2 separate regions of the Homo sapiens genome follow, and region 1 is linked to region 2. The links are contacts of gene promoters, found by promoter capture Hi-C in blood cells and fetal thymus (Javierre and others, 2016). All regions are on one chromosome and are shown on one strand. Each heading gives the region's core, a stretch centred on a gene start or on the middle of the fragment in contact. The rest is flanking DNA. Distances are from core to core; before and after follow the strand shown. Region 1 has its middle 6.6 kb from the start of PABPN1. Region 2 holds the start of CBLN3 (cerebellin 3 precursor).

Region 1 (3,426 bases), core at 550-3,049, 1.1 Mb after region 2:
ACTAAAGGCCGGGCATGGTGGCTCACGCTTGTAATCCCAGCACTTTGGGAGGCCGAGGTGGGTTAACCACGAGATCAGGAGATCGAGACCAGCCTGACCAACATGTTGAAACCCCGTCTCTACTAAAAATACAAAAAATTAGCCAGGCATGTGGCGCATGCCTGTAATCCTAGCTACTCAGGAGGCTGAGGCAGGAGAATTGCTTGAACCTGGGAGGTGGAGGTTGCAGTGAGCTGAGATGGCACCACTGCACTCCAGCTTGGGCGACAGAGTGAAACTCCGTCTCAGGAAAAAAAAAAAAAAAGAGGAAGAAAACTACCAGCTCCAGGTAAAAGGCAACACTATTGTTGTTACCGCCTTCTCCAGGACAGGAAAGGCAAGCCCAGGGTGAATAAGCAACTTTTGGGCACCTACTAAATGGCAGGCCCTGTGAGGCAGACACAAAGTCACAATTGATGCCCTCAAGAAGCTTGCATTCGGCCGGGCGCGGTGGCTCACGCCTGTAATCCCAGCACTTTGGGAGGCCGAGGCGGGTGGATCATGAGGTCAGGAGATCGAGACCATCCTGGCTAACAAGGTGAAACCCCGTCTCTACTAAAAATACAAAAAATTAGCCGGGCGCGGTGGCGGGCGCCTGTAGTCCCAGCTACTCGGGAGGCTGAGGCAGGAGAATGGCGTGAACCCGGGAAGCGGAGCTTGCAGTGAGCCGAGATCCCGCCACTGCAGTCCGCAGGCCAGCCTGGGCGACAGAGCGAGACTCCGTCTCAAAAAAAAAAAAAAAAAAAAAAAAAAAAAAAAGAAGAAGCTTGCATTCTAGTGGGAAAACAGAAATGTAGTTAGTTTCATTATAAAACCACAAAGTAAATATTAAACAGGGATAGGAACAGTTTGTCCTGACTGCAGGAGTGATTACTTCTGACTTGGAAATCAGGAAAGGCTTCATGTCTGTTGTACCTGGCTTACACTTGGAAGGATATGCGTGATTTTCATAGAAGAGTTGGAATGAGCATAGCAGGCTAGAGGGAACAGCATGAGGGATACATGAAAATAAATAACAACTACAATGCATAGTACATCAGGTGTAGGGCAGGATCTGGAAGAGAAATGTAATCAGGATCAGATTGAAAAAGGTTGTAGTTCCATGCTTGTGTTTGGACTTTGTACTTATTGGTGGCATCATAGAGGGCTTTTTTTGGCAATAAGAAGTTTGGAGGCTGAGCATGGTAGCTTACGCCTATAAACCTAGCACTTTGGGAGGCCGAGGCAGGAGGATTGCTTGAGGCCAAGAGTTCAAGATCAACTTGGCCAACATAGCGAGACCCTATCTTTTAAAGTACTTTTTTTAGGAATTTTTATTTTTCAAAAAAAAATTTGAAGCCAATACATCTGCCAGGACCCCTGCAATGATGATGGGGAGTTACTCAAGCAGTGAAAGTAGGAATAGAGAGAACAGACAAGATATGGTAGAATTGACTGAATATGGAAAACTAAACCAGAGAAGGGTCAAAACATGATTCACCCTCCAATACCCAACAATTTATGGGGATCTTTTAGAGCCAGCCATTTAGTGCCCCCTGGTGGACAGATGAGACCATCACAGCATTAACAGCAACAAGTCACTTAGGCTGTTTCATTCTTCCAGTAAAAAGTTTATATTGAACACTATCCAGACCCTCACTAATCAGCCTCTGCAGAAGCCACAGAGATCACGGCACTATTTTAGGTGAATCTAGTTAGGAGAAAAGATAGACCTCAAATGCCTAACCCATAACAGAAAGTAGAATAAATGACCAAATCCTAAAATATGTGGTGGATAACACTGACATGAGATTTTAGAAAATACTGCAATTTGAGAGGTGGGTTAAGGCTTCAGATATAACAGAGTTTTTTGTTTTGTTTGTTTTGAGACAGAGTCTCGCTCTGTCACCCAGGCTGGAAGTGCAGTGGCTGAGTCTCAGCTCACCTCAATCTCCACCTCCTATGTTCAAACGATTCTCCTGCCTTAGCCTCCAGAGTAGCTGGGACTACAGGTGCATGCCACCACACCTGGCTAATTTTTGTATTTTTAGTAGAGACGGGATTTCACCATGTTGGCCAGGCTGGTCTCAAACTCCTGACCTCAAGTGATCCGCCCACCTCTGCCTCCCAAAGTGCTGAGACTGCAGGTGTGAGCCACTGCGCCCGGCCACAGAGCCATTTCTTTAACATATGATTTTTGAAGAGCATCCAGGTCAGAGGCAATTGTGAACAAAACATCCTGAGAAGTAAATGAAAAAATAGTAAGGTTGAAATACTAAGAAATTCTATAGGTAATGAAGTCTGAAGGTTCAACCTGGCTAGTGATGTAGTGTTCAAGTTTTAAGACCAATCTGACACTGGAATAAAAAATGGAGAAATTAGGATGCCCAAGACAAAATTTAGATATGAAAACAGTGAAAGCCAGTTGTGAAGTCCTAATAAACTAATCCTGGCCAGGAGCTGTGGCTCACGCCTATAGGAAGGCCAAGCCAGGAGGACTGCTTGAGCTCAGGAGTTTGGGACAGCCTGGGCAACACAGCAAAACTGTCTCTACAAAAAATTAGCCAAGTGTGAAGGCAGGCACCTATAGTCACAGCTATGTAGGACACTGAGGTGGGAGGATCACTTGAGCCCGGGAGGTTGAGGCTGCAGTGAGCCACTGCACTCCAGCCTGGGTGACAAAGCAAGACCATCTCAAAAAAATAAATGATCCAATTAATATAAGTTAGCTGGACACATTAAATGGTTACTGCATGGTTGGAAAAACAAGCTTTCCGATTGTCTCTTAGCTAAGTGTATTTTGTCTTCTGCATTTCTTGGGCCCACCTTGAGGTAGAAAAGGTAGCTGGGTGCAGTGGTTCACACTTGTAATCCCAATACTTTGGGAGGCTAAGATGGGAAGATTGCTTGGTCAACATAGCGAGACCCCAAAGACAAGGTTACCCAGACCCCAATCCAAAGCTCTAGGGCTGCAGGCATGGATAGTTCATTTGCACGTAAGCTGTATCAGGAGCACACAAAAGCGCCATTAGGTCAGTAATTCGGCTATTCCTTTTTTTATTTTGAGACAGTTTCACTCTGTCACCCAGGCTGGAGTGCAGTGGTGTGAACTTGGCTCACTGCAAGCTCCACCTCCTGGGTTCACGCCATTCTCCTGGCTCAGCCTCCCGAGTAGCTGGGACCACAGGCACCCGCCACCTCGTCAGGCTAATTTTCTGTATTTTTAGTAGAGGTGGGGTTTCGCCATGTTAGCCAAGATGGTCTTGATCTCCTGACCTCGTGATCTGCCCACCTCAGCCTCCCAAAGTCCTGGGATTGTAGCAGTGAGCCACCATGCCCGGCCCAATTCAGCTATTCTTTTACTTTCCCAGGCTTATTTCTCTCTCAAATGCCAATCAGGGTTACATG
Region 2 (3,366 bases), core at 1-2,500:
CGTTTTCCTTGGGGCCCTCCAGCTGCAGCCAGATGTGGGGGTTGTCCGGACAGTCCTTCGGAAGGACGCTCACCCCCACGCTGAAGATGCGCTCCACATGGGGCTGCTGTTCCCGAACCTTGTTCTCAGCCTCCGCAGACACCGCAAAGCGATCTGGGGACGCGGGGCGGGCCCCCCAGGTAGGCATGGCTGCTGCCCCCAGCCCTGGAAGGGGAGAAGGCAGCTCAGAGCCTCATTGTACCCTCCATCCAAATCCTGGTTCCTGGGACTACACCAGCTATCAACAGGTCGCACCTAGTTAAGGCTCTGGTAAACAGCCCCAGGAGGTGACAAGCATCTGAGTCCACTGGAGGTAGGGAGGGTGTATGTCACGCAGGCCTCTCCGGAGAGGAAGTCCCGGTAAACAAGGCTGTCTATCGAGAGTGGGCGTCTGGGCTTTGGAAAAGGATGACCACAGTCCGGAGCAAGAAGGGTGGGGGGGCTCCAGCTCGGCCTGGAGGCCAGAAGGAGTCTCCTGGGGCACTCTGAAGCTTCTTAAGGACGAATCCTCAGCAGGGGATTGAACTAGGCTGTCCTCTGGGGGCCCTGGTCTGCCATTTCCAAGGTTCAAGCCACTCCCACCCCTCCCCCAGCCGTCCGCTGCCCCTCTCCGTCGGGCCAGGAGCACCGCCCAGGGCCCAGGGGCCGGGCCGGGCCGGGCCCGCCCACCGCGGACTGGGGCAGCCACCCCGGGCCGGGCCTACTCCGCACCGCGGCCCCCGCTCCCCGCTCCCGGGCGCGGTGGAGGGGCGCGCCTACCGCCTCCGCCGCCCGCGCCGGCTTCAGGTCCTCTCAGCGCCCGCCAGGCCCCCGCTTTGCCCGCGCCCCCAGCCCAGGGGACAAGGGCAGGGGGCCCGAATCTGGGCGGGCCTTCCCGGGTTCCTCACCCAGCGGGGACCTCTCTTGTCCACATCGCACGCAAACTGTTTCTTGAGTCACTTCCTGGCCTGGGGCGGAGTCAGCCCAGCTCCTCCCGGCTGCGCGCCCTCCTCCCAACCCCGCCGCCGCGCCCAGAGGCCCCGACGGGCCCGCTCGGCCTAGTCCCCTCGGCGGCTCCAGGGCTCGCCCCTTGCGCTTCTCACCAGCCCTCCCGTCTGTCTCCCGGCCCTCAGGGTCCTCGCGCATTCTGCGCAGTTACTTCTCGGAAAGGGGAACCATGCGTTGAAAGTTGTTTCCCGCGAATAAAGATGTGGCCGACCAAAGAGGCAGCGTGACTGGCCCACTGGTGCTCTAGGCCCAAGCACTTTCCACCAAAGCAATCGTGGCGGAGGGGGTAGGCGGGAGGCGGGAGGCGGAGGGTACCCGTGGTGGAGTACCCCTTTCTTCCAACAAACGGAAAGATGCCACGAAGAAGGGCTGTTGATTTGTGGGGGATTTTGAAGAGAGGAAGAGTAGGAGGAAGGGGTTGAGGGGCTGCCTCTGGCATATGCACACACTCACACATTCTGTCACACCCGTCACACACACATACCATGTTCTCCATCCCCCCAGGTCCAGCCCTCAGTGCTGTCCCATCCAGCAGGGCTGCCCTGAAGCTCTGGCTGCAGCCCTCCCGTCCAGTGGGCAGGCGGCTTCATCCCTCCTTTCTCTCCCAAAGCCCAACTGCTGTCACTGCATGCTCTGCCAAGGAGGAGGGAACTGCAGTGACAGCAGGAGTAAGAGTGGGAGGCAGGACAGAGCTGGGACACAGGTATGGAGAGGGGGTTCAGCGAGCCTAGAGAGGGCAGACGATCAGGGTGCCGGCGGTGAGAATCCAGGGAGAGGAGCGGAAACAGAAGAGGGGCAGAAGACCGGGGCACTTGTGGGTTGCAGAGCCCCTCAGCCATGTTGGGAGCCAAGCCACACTGGCTACCAGGTCCCCTACACAGTCCCGGGCTGCCCTTGGTTCTGGTGCTTCTGGCCCTGGGGGCCGGGTGGGCCCAGGAGGGGTCAGAGCCCGTCCTGCTGGAGGGGGAGTGCCTGGTGGTCTGTGAGCCTGGCCGAGCTGCTGCAGGGGGGCCCGGGGGAGCAGCCCTGGGAGAGGCACCCCCTGGGCGAGTGGCATTTGCTGCGGTCCGAAGCCACCACCATGAGCCAGCAGGGGAAACCGGCAATGGCACCAGTGGGGCCATCTACTTCGACCAGGTAATCCCCCTACCCCTGTCCAGGGGACCTGGAAAGACCCTGCAAGGACCTGGAAGCAACTGTCCAAGCCCACTTTGCTGTCTCTGAGGCTTTAAGAAAACAGCTTCCTACATCTTTCACTAATCTGGCCTATTGCCCCACCACCCCACCGACGGTTTCCCCTCCCTCCACCCATACGCAGCCCTCTCCTTGCCCCTTCTCACCATTTCTTTTGAATCTGTTCACTCCTATTCACTCCTACTTGCCACTCCTTCTATTCATTACTCACTGCCCCTGCCCCTAGTCCCCATGGTACCCCTGAGCCATGGGCATTTCCTGAGCCCCACTCAGCAGGCTCTGCTTCCCCCAGGTCCTGGTGAACGAGGGCGGTGGCTTTGACCGGGCCTCTGGCTCCTTCGTAGCCCCTGTCCGGGGTGTCTACAGCTTCCGGTTCCATGTGGTGAAGGTGTACAACCGCCAAACTGTCCAGGTGACCTCAGCACTGGCCCCCATCCCCGGCTCAGGAGGGTGGGGAGGGGGAAGAAGGGGAGCCCAGCTGACCTCCGGGTGGACTCTCCATTGACCTGTGTCCTGGAGGCCAGGACCAGGGGAGGAATGGGCCTGCCTTGCATTGAGTGTGGAGGATGTGCAGAGTCCAATGCTGGCCGCCCCTCAGCCCTCCCGGGAGAGCCCATTAAAACCCAGCTTCCCAAGAGGAAGCTCCTGGGAAAGTGGGGGGTCCTGAGCTAAGGGCTGGGGAATGGGGGCTAACTGGGCTCCCCTCCCCAGGTGAGCCTGATGCTGAACACGTGGCCTGTCATCTCAGCCTTTGCCAATGATCCTGACGTGACCCGGGAGGCAGCCACCAGCTCTGTGCTACTGCCCTTGGACCCTGGGGACCGAGTGTCTCTGCGCCTGCGTCGGGGGAATCTACTGGGTGGTTGGAAATACTCAAGTTTCTCTGGCTTCCTCATCTTCCCTCTCTGAGGACCCAAGTCTTTCAAGCACAAGAATCCAGCCCCTGACAACTTTCTTCTGCCCTCTCTTGCCCCAGAAACAGCAGAGGCAGGAGAGAGACTCCCTCTGGCTCCTATCCCACCTCTTTGCATGGGACCCTGTGCCAAACACCCAAGTTTAAGAGAAGAGTAGAGCTGTGGCATCTCCAGACCAGGCCTTTCCACCCACCCACCCCCAGTTACCCTCCCAGCCACCTGCTGCATCTGT

What was found. Contacts are between HindIII fragments. The CHiCAGO score rates a contact against its expected background, and 5 or more counts as called.
Region 1: a fragment that was not itself captured here is called in contact with the fragment with the promoter of CBLN3 in region 2 in 1 of 17 cell types (naive B cells); the score reaches 5.1 in naive B cells.

What each region holds. Positions count from the first base shown.
Region 1 is chr14:23,326,363-23,329,788 of GRCh38, reverse strand. No RefSeq gene overlaps it. Among named protein-coding and RNA genes, the nearest start is that of PABPN1, 6.6 kb to the right of the region's middle. RefSeq lists a silencer at 1,507-1,596. The HindIII fragment of the contact is 1,983 bases long and covers 808-2,790 here.
Region 2 is chr14:24,427,552-24,430,917 of GRCh38, reverse strand. CBLN3 (cerebellin 3 precursor) reads left to right here and starts at 1,250. Exons shown (of 3, transcript NM_001039771.3): 1 at 1,250-2,163; 2 at 2,513-2,632; 3 at 2,932-3,366. The coding sequence starts at 1,864. The coding sequence ends at 3,129. KHNYN (KH and NYN domain containing) reads right to left here and starts at 964. Exons shown (of 8, transcript NM_015299.3): 1 at 799-964; 2 at 1-204. The coding sequence starts at 187. RefSeq lists enhancers at 1-233, 378-557 and a silencer at 588-1,127. The HindIII fragment of the contact is 4,979 bases long and covers 533-3,366 here.